Regions from separate parts of the Homo sapiens genome. Here region 2 is linked to region 1. Evidence: promoter capture Hi-C in 16 types of primary human blood cells and fetal thymus (Javierre and others, 2016). All regions are on one chromosome and are shown on one strand. Each heading gives the region's core, a stretch centred on a gene start or on the middle of the fragment in contact. The rest is flanking DNA. Distances are from core to core; before and after follow the strand shown.

Region 1 (4,330 bases), core at 514-3,013:
ATATTTTAAATGCATTCATTTTAATGAAAACTGTACTTCGAAGCATATGTTAGCAGAGGTTGTAGTGACGGCAAATTATACAAACACTTGATAGAAATTCCAGAAATTCTCCTGCCTTTTGAGAAGCAGTAGGCATATGAACTAAAGGGAGTGAAATCCACCTTAGGAAGACCTGCCAAAAAGCTGATTCTTCAAAAAAGTGTTCTCGAAATCTTAGTGTAACTGGCACCAACACCCATCCCCAATGCCTCGTTTTTTTTCCAGCAGAACTGACAAGGTACAAACGGACCCCGCCCAGCCTGGAAGGCTTCTCTAATGTTGGCAGAGTAGGTTGGACTTGTTTTTGCACAAATCGCCTTTCCCTCTTTCCCTACTCCACTTGCACTGAATATTGCACTTTCTTCCTTACTGAAGCGGGATTCCTGCCTTTTTTTTTTTTTTTTGAGACAGATTTTCGCTCTTGTTGCCCAGGCTGCAGTGCAGTGGTGTGATCTCGGCTCACTGCAACCTCCGCCTCCCGGGTTCAAGCGATTCTCCTACCTCAGCCTCCCGAGTAGCTAGGATTACAGGCGCCCGCCACCATGCCCGGCTAATTCCTGGCATTTTAAATACGATAAATTACTTCAACCTATGACCACCTCAAGCTGAATATAAGTAGCCGCAGACACCGTTTGCATGACCCAGGAACCACAAACACGGAGCGAAGGCCTGCCGGGACCACGCTGAGCTTCACTACTGGCAGCCAACTCACTTCCGGGGGTGCACTCAGCACAGCAGTGGCCCAACCCGCCCTCAACCGGAAGTCTTTTGGGCTCCGGCTTCGCCGTCGCCCCGCCCCCTGGCCTTTGCCCCGGTCGGGCGGGACTTCCTGTGTCGTATTTCCAAGGACTCCAAAGCGAGGCCGGGGACTGAAGGTGTGGGTGTCGAGCCCTCTGGCAGAGGGTTAACCTGGGTCAAATGCACGGATTCTCACCTCGTACAGTTACGCTCTCCCGCGGCACGTCCGCGAGGACTTGAAGTCCTGAGCGCTCAAGTTTGTCCGTAGGTCGAGAGAAGGCCATGGAGGTGCCGCCACCGGCACCGCGGAGCTTTCTCTGTAGAGCATTGTGCCTATTTCCCCGAGTCTTTGCTGCCGAAGCTGTGACTGCCGATTCGGAAGTCCTTGAGGAGCGTCAGAAGCGGCTTCCCTACGTCCCAGAGCCCTATTACCCGGAATCTGGATGGGACCGCCTCCGGGAGCTGTTTGGCAAAGAGTAAAAGTGCCTAGGGTGTGAAGTGGGGTAGGGGGCCGCGAAAGCGGTGTCCTGCAGCGTGGGCAGCCTGGGTCAGCCTTAGGACACCAAGGATGGTGTGCTTCATTTTTAGATTATATTTGAGGTTCTGATATTTGTAACCCAAGCTTGTATCTTTTTTCTTTCTTTTTTTTTTTTTTTTTTCCAGACAGGGTCTTGCTCTGTCGCCCAGGCTGGAGTGCTGTGGTGCTATCTCGGCTCACTGCAACCTCTGCCTCTGGGACTCAAGTGATCCTCCCACCTCAGCCTCCCGATTAATTGGGACTACAGGCGCGCACCACCACGCCCGGCTAATTTTTTTTTAATGTATTTTTTATAGACAGGGTTCTTACCATGTTGCCTAGGCTGGTCTTGAACTCTTGGACTTAGGCGATCCGCCTACCTCGGCCTCCCAAAGTGCTGGGATTACAGGCGTGAGCCACCGCGCCAGCCCAAACTCGTATTTTTCTTTCTTTTTTTTTTTTTTTTCGAGACTGAGTCGCGCTCTATCGCCCAGGCTGGAGTGCAGTGGTGCGATCTTGGCTCACTGCACTCTTCACTTCCCAGGTTCAAGCGGTTCTCCTGCCTCAGCCTCCAGAGTAGCTGGGATTACAGTTGCCCACTACCATGCCCAGCTAATTTTTGTATTTTTAGTAGAGACAGGATTTCACCATTCGCCAGGCTGGTCTGGAACTCCTGACCTCACGTGATCTGCCTGTTTCCGCCTCCCAAAGTGCTGGGATTACAGGCCTGAGCCACCGCGGCTGGACTGCGCCCGGCCTAGAAGGGCAATTATTTTATAGTAACTTAATACTTAAGACAGCTATTTGTTAGAGCAGTCTCAGGATGACATCTTGGAAGCTTCATTAGCAGTTCTAGCTTCTTATGCATTTGAGAGTAACAAATCGAATTAAATAGTAGTTTTTCCTTGTTATTTTAGATTGGCATGTGCCACCCACTGCATAGTGAACTTTCCCAGTGCGTTTTTAAAAAAACATTTATTTGTTTATTTTTAGAGCCAGGATCTTTGCTATGTTGCTATGCTGGATTTGAACTCGGGCTCAAGTCCTACCTCAGCCTCCTAAGTTAGCTGTGACTACAGGCGTGTGCTACTGTGCCCAGCCCAGTGCTTTTATTAGTACAGTCCTATCTGAGTATTTCATGAAATTATTTAGTAAAATAGAATTTAGATTTTTTGTCTTACATCCACGTTTTTATTCTTTCATACATTGCCCTAAAATCTCACGAGTTGGTGTGATTTCTAAAAGTTAACTTAAGATTTAAACGGAAATATTGGTCTCTCTATCCAACTCACAAATTCTTCCTATTTCTAGGGGTGTAATAGTCATCAAAAGCACCTTTTAAAAAACTTTTTATTGGAGTAGGAAATGCATTTCGAAAAATGTGCCTAAGTATACTGATGGATGAATTTTCACAAACTGAACATAGCTGTACCCAGCACTAAGAAAGAAATGGCAACTATTGTAACATCCCAAAAGCTCCCCTTGTGCCTTTTCCGGTCATTGTCTTTTCAGGAGTTGCCACTATCCTAATTCTAACACCATAGCTTCGTTTTGTCTGAGACTACGTTCCTTTTAATATAACTGAACTGTTTAATTCATCTGAGAATTCTACCTATGATGAAAAATGTTGTGGTGGTAGCATTTGGGTTAATTCTGATTATAGAGTCTCTTGGAGAGCAATGTCCATAAACTAATCCCAAACAACATTGTCTTTTTGATGTTGTAGTGAACAGCAGAGAATTTCAAAGGACCTTGCTAATATCTGTAAGACGGCAGCTACAGCAGGCATCATTGGCTGGGTGTATGGGGGAATACCAGCTTTTATTCATGCTAAACAACAATACATTGAGCAGAGCCAGGCAGAAATTTATCATAACCGGTTTGATGCTGTGGTATGTACTGGTGATCTAAAGAAATTTGGGGCACACTGACTTAGTAATTCACTTTACACTTAATCATTCAATTAGGTTGTGGGGATGGAGGGTTGTTTTAAGGTGTCAGAGTAAAGAAATAAAGTCTGTACTTAATAACAGTGGAAGTACTAATGTTAAAGTGCCTGCATGTTGTTTGAGAGACTACTTTGTTATCTTCAGAACAGGCATGTTTGGCATCACCACTGTGGCTTTTCTTTCTCAAATACATTTCTTCCAATCCCCTGCTAAATCGTCAAGGCTCAGCTGTAACATATTTACCTCATTCACAAAGCCTCCATGAGTATAGGAGCTCACACTAAAGCAATAGTTAACATTTATAACTTTATAGAGTGCTAACTCGTTTGTTACATCATTAGATCTGTACATCAGTTCTTTTGTGAGAATATTAAAGCTCAGAGAATTTTTAACTTTTTATTTTGAAATTATAGCAGGCTTGAAAGTTGCAAAACTAGTACAAAGATTTCCTATATACCTTTCATCCGGATTCTCCATTGTTAACATTTTACCATGTTTGTTTTATCATTCTCCCTCTGTATAATATGTACTAATTTGTTCTGAGCTACTTGACAGTAGGTTATAGACATGATGAATACTTCAGTGTGTTATTTCCTAAAAACAAGGAAATTCTCTTATACAACCACAATTATAATATCAAGATCAGGAAATTAACACAGATATAGTACTATTATCTTATTTAAAGACCTGTAAATTTTGCTAGTTATCCCACAGTATCATTTATTTTAAAAATAAATAAAAAAATGTATTTTTCAGAAGTTAGGCTTGAGTTCTTATTAAAAAATTAATTAATTAAATTTTTTTTTGTCTGGTCCAGAATCTGACCCTGGATCACATGTTGAATTTGCCTGTTATGCTGCTTTGGTCTCATTTAGTCTGGAAGAGTTTCTCTGTTTTTGTCTTTCATGGCCTTGACTATGGGTGATTTATTTTGTAGAATGTCCCTCAATTTGGGTTTGTTTGATGGTTTCTCATGACTGCATTCAGACTATGTTTTTTGACAGGAATACCCTAGAACTGAAATTAAATTAGAAACCCATGATATCTCTGTCCCTTTACTGGTGATGTTTACTTCAGTGACTTGCTT
Region 2 (4,336 bases), core at 1,008-3,507, 1.1 Mb after region 1:
TTTCCAGGGCAATGACCTGATGACCCAAAAGTTGCTACCCCTTCCCTAGAAATGTCTGCATAAACTGCCTCTTTACTTTTTTGTCTGTTTGTTTGTTTGTTTGAGACGGAGTCTCGCTCTGTCGCCCAGGCTGGAGTGCAGTGGCGCGATCTCGGTTCACTGCAAGCTCCGCCTCCCTGGTTCACACCATTCTCCTGCCTCAGCCTCCCGAGTAGCTAGGACTACAGGCGCCCGCCACCACGCCCAGCTAATTTTTTTTTGTATTTTTAGTAGCGACGGGGTTTCACCGTGTAAGCCAGGATGGTCTTGATCGCCTGACCTCGTGATCCGCCCGCCTCGGCCTCCCAAAGTGCTGGGATTACAGGCGTGAGCCACCGCGCCCGGCCAAACTGCCAAATGTGGGTATAAATGTGACTCAAAGCTGGCCTGAGCTGGTGCTTTCTGCCTATGAGGTGGCCCTGCTCTACAGGAGCAGTCACGGTTGTGACACCACCAAAGCTGTAACACTGCCTCTTCAATAAAATTGTTTTCTTCTACCTCCGGGTTGCCCTTGAATTCTTTCCTGGGCAAAGCCAAGTTCCCTGGTTGCCTAAGCCCCACTTTGGGGCTCGCCTGCCCTGCATCAGTTCGTACTCGCTGGACTCATTCCTTTATCCTTTTATTCTTTTTACATGCTCTCCTTCCTAGATCAGTGTCTAATCTATACAGGTTTTGGAAACTTTATGTAGTCTTTAGAATTTTATAAACTGCTCTTGCTTTTCATATTGTATTATTTTCTTAGTATTTCAAAACACCTTTGAACAAGTCAGAATTTCCTTTTTTTTTCTCCTTTAAAATCGAGTCTGAGTAACTCGTCTTGTGTTCATTTTTTCTACATTCTCTCAGCCTGAATCCTCATGAGTCCATTTTGCTCTATATTCATCTGGACATTAGACTACTTTGAAATATTACCATTTCTGCCTATTCTTTCTGTACTGCCTGATTGTCAGCTCCCGAAAGGCAAACACCCCATCTTCCATTTTGTCTGGATTTCCCCCACTGAGCCTAGAAGATTGACTTAACACTGACTAGTGTGCTGTGTGCTTCACGCGGTGGGTGCTTAATAAATATTTTAAAACAGTATTAAAATGTTGAATAAATTTGACAGCAGTGCTGCTTCTCATCATTTCAAATGCCAACACTTTCTAGGTCCCTTTTCTAGCAACCATTTCCCAACATACCTACGCGCCCCCAGACGTTTCAGCCAAGCTGGGGCTCTCTTTTGATCCATCCTTCTTTGCCCGAGTTATGGAAATATTGTTTACATTTTTTCCCCTGAGGAGAAGGGGAACCCAAAGACCCTGCTGTGAAACTTGAAGTTGTTTTTCTCCTTGGTAACTGGGGAGAAGGAAGGACAGTAGGGACAGAGAAGGTTTTGTTTCTGATTACTTCAGTTTTCGCCCCAGATCGTCTTTTACAATAAGATACATGCCCCTATGAGTATTTTCATACCTGTAAGGATGTTTTTAATTCTTTGCATCTGAAGAGTGCTAAGGATTTTAGGCAAGAGGTTTTAGTATTTTAACTAAGATGTTTTCTCATGAGCTTTATTCAGTATCTCATTTTCTTCCTGACCTTCTATAGTCAGTCAGGCAACATTTCTCTTATAACATCATTTTTCCTATTAATCATTATTTCGTACCTGTGAAAAATAAGCTTACACTTAATGTTGTATGAATCTAGCATGGTAAAGTACAGAAAAGCTTATTCTCTTCTTCTTGGGTAGGGAATTCTGTTTTGCAAAGCACTTTGTGATCTATTTGTTAGCTTATTTAATCCTCACAACAACTTTGCTAGGTGGACAGGAGTCATTATCTCCAGGATAAGGAAAAGGAAACTCAGAGACTTTAAGTGACTTATCCAAGGTGACACAGCACGGTTAGACCCACAATGAAAACCCGGACTTCTGACTCCACAGCCAGTCCCACACAGCTCAACTTTACATAATAAGCCCTGGTTATGTCAGTAGAGACAAGGCTGCTAGGAAGAAGCAGCGCGGTGACAGATGAGTAGGTGGGGAGCGGCGGTGGGGCAGGGCGCACTGCGAGAAGAGCACTTCGCGCATGCGCATATCACCGAGCGAACGCGCCGTGTTCGGGAAGGTAGGAGAAAGAGGCGGAGCTCCTTGTTAACGACATCCCCAACCTCTGCTAACGCGCAGGCGCACTTCCTGAAGCTGAAGGTCAGCATAGACAAAGGGCCTCAGAATCGCGCAGGCGCAATTGTGCCCTGGTTCGCCAAGATGTCGTTCCCAAAGTATAAGCCGTCGAGCCTGCGCACTCTGCCTGAGACCCTCGACCCAGCCGAATACAACATATCTCCGGAAACCCGGCGGGCGCAAGCCGAGCGGTTGGCCATAAGAGCCCAGCTGAAACGAGAGTACCTGCTTCAGTACAACGATCCCAACCGCCGAGGGCTCATCGTGAGTGTGGGGCCTCCCAGGCGGGAATAGGGCCCGAGTCCTGGGAGAGACCGAGAGAGACCACGCAAAGGGTCGGCCACCGCTCCCGATCAGTATCTCAGACGCAGGTCCTCTTCCAGGCCTAGCCAACTCACTACCCTTTTACCTTTGCCAGAGCTTGGCCCTCGAGAGGACCGGCTCTGGACTCAGACCTGGCTGGGTTTGAATCCTGGCTTGATCACTTCCTGCCTGCGTGACCTTAAGAACGTTATTCACTCTGCTTATCCTCGATTTTCTGTCTGCAAAATGGGCGTAATATAGTGCTTACTCTTTTATCAGGCTGTTAGGATTAAATGAGATAGAGTATGTGACTGTCCTAGCACAGTGCCTCGTTCGTAAGGCGTGTTCAGAAAATGTTTCTATATATATGCATATATATATTATATTATATATATATTCTATATATATGCATATATATTATATTCTATATATATGCATATATATTTTATATATATGCATATATATTATATTCTATATATATGCATATATATTTTATATATATATATAATTTTAAAGAGCTGGTGTTTACCTTTCAGTTCACAGCTCATAGGGATACTGCTCTCTCCTGATGGGAATACAGTGATTCCTTCAACCTGCATCTTTTAAAGACCCTGAAGCTTGCTGAAGTTCTAGGCTTTGGAGTCAGAACCCAAAGCACTACTCATTGGCTAACTCTGTTACCTTGGGCAACTTCAACTCCTCTGAATTATAGTTTCCTGGTTTCGTATATAAATGATGTGCATTATGAGGTTAAATAAGACAGTCTGTGTAACATTCGCAGCACATAATATATGCCCAGTAAACTGGTAATTAACAGGTGTGCTTTCATTAGGTAGTTTTCTATACAGGAACTAAGTAGGTTAAATATGATGTTAACAGAACAGGACTGGACTTTTCCCACACGTTGCATTGGTGTTTTGGAATTTTTGGAAGTTATGAGGATTGAATGAAAGTTACAATGTGCCAGGCACTGTGCTAAAACTCTTTTTGAGTACTATTTACATATCACAACTATTTGGATGATTAAGCTCTACTACTGTCCCCATTTTACAGATGAGAAGACAACATGGGAAGGACAAGTAGGTCATACAGAGATACCTCTTTAGTAGGTGATAGAGCAAAATTCTAACCCTGGTTTGTGTAACCCACAGCATCTGCTTTTAACTAGTTGGTTATACTGTCTCCAGCCAGAACCTTGTTAACTTGGGAAGAGGGTGCAGAGAGACACATTTATTACAAACTCACATGATTGGGTTTGATGTGTTAGTGTGATGCATTAAAAAAGAATAAGGCCTCAGTCAGACCTGAAATTGAAACCAAGATCTTCTGTCTTCTAGCTGTATGCCTCAGGGTAGTTTCAATTTTCTCATGTGTAAATAGAGGTAATACTACCAGTCTCTTTGGTTCTGTTGATTAAATGAGTGTGTGACACTATCATTTATTAATCAATACATGTAAATTCTCTTGCCTAATTTTTTTTTTTTTTTCCCTTGAGACAGGATCTTACTCTGTCACCCAGGCTGGAGTGCAGTGGTATGATCTCGGCTCACTGCAACCTCTGCCTCCCGGGCTCAAGCTGTCCTCCCACCTCCGCCTTCCAAGTAGCTGGGACCACAGATGTGCGCTACCATGTCCGGTTAAGTTTTTGTATTTTTTATAGAGATGGAGTTTCATCATTTTGCCCAGGCTGGTCTTGAACTCCTGAGCTCAAGCGATCCTCCTGTCTCCGCCTCTCAGAGTGCTGGGATTACAGACTTGAGCCACTGTGCCTGGCCATCTTGCCTAATCTTTAAGAATGATTGATTGAATCAATAAATAATTGCTCAGGGTCTGTTA

The links. The method cuts DNA at HindIII sites, captures the fragments that hold promoters and counts their contacts. A CHiCAGO score of 5 or more calls a contact.
Region 2: a contact is called between the fragment with the promoter of NDUFB4 here and a fragment that was not itself captured in region 1, in 1 of 17 cell types (fetal thymus). The highest score is 6.0, in fetal thymus.

The regions. Positions count from the first base shown.
Region 1 is chr3:119,497,675-119,502,004 of GRCh38, forward strand. It overlaps TIMMDC1 (translocase of inner mitochondrial membrane domain containing 1), which reads left to right and starts at 873. Exons shown (of 7, transcript NM_016589.4): 1 at 873-1,253; 2 at 3,021-3,186. The coding sequence starts at 1,060. RefSeq lists an enhancer at 613-662. The HindIII fragment of the contact is 733 bases long and covers 1,398-2,130 here.
Region 2 is chr3:120,594,079-120,598,414 of GRCh38, forward strand. NDUFB4 (NADH:ubiquinone oxidoreductase subunit B4) reads left to right here and starts at 2,258. Exons shown (of 3, transcript NM_004547.6): 1 at 2,258-2,461. The coding sequence starts at 2,282. RefSeq lists enhancers at 2,329-2,668, 3,709-3,778. The HindIII fragment of the contact is 1,375 bases long and covers 1,741-3,115 here.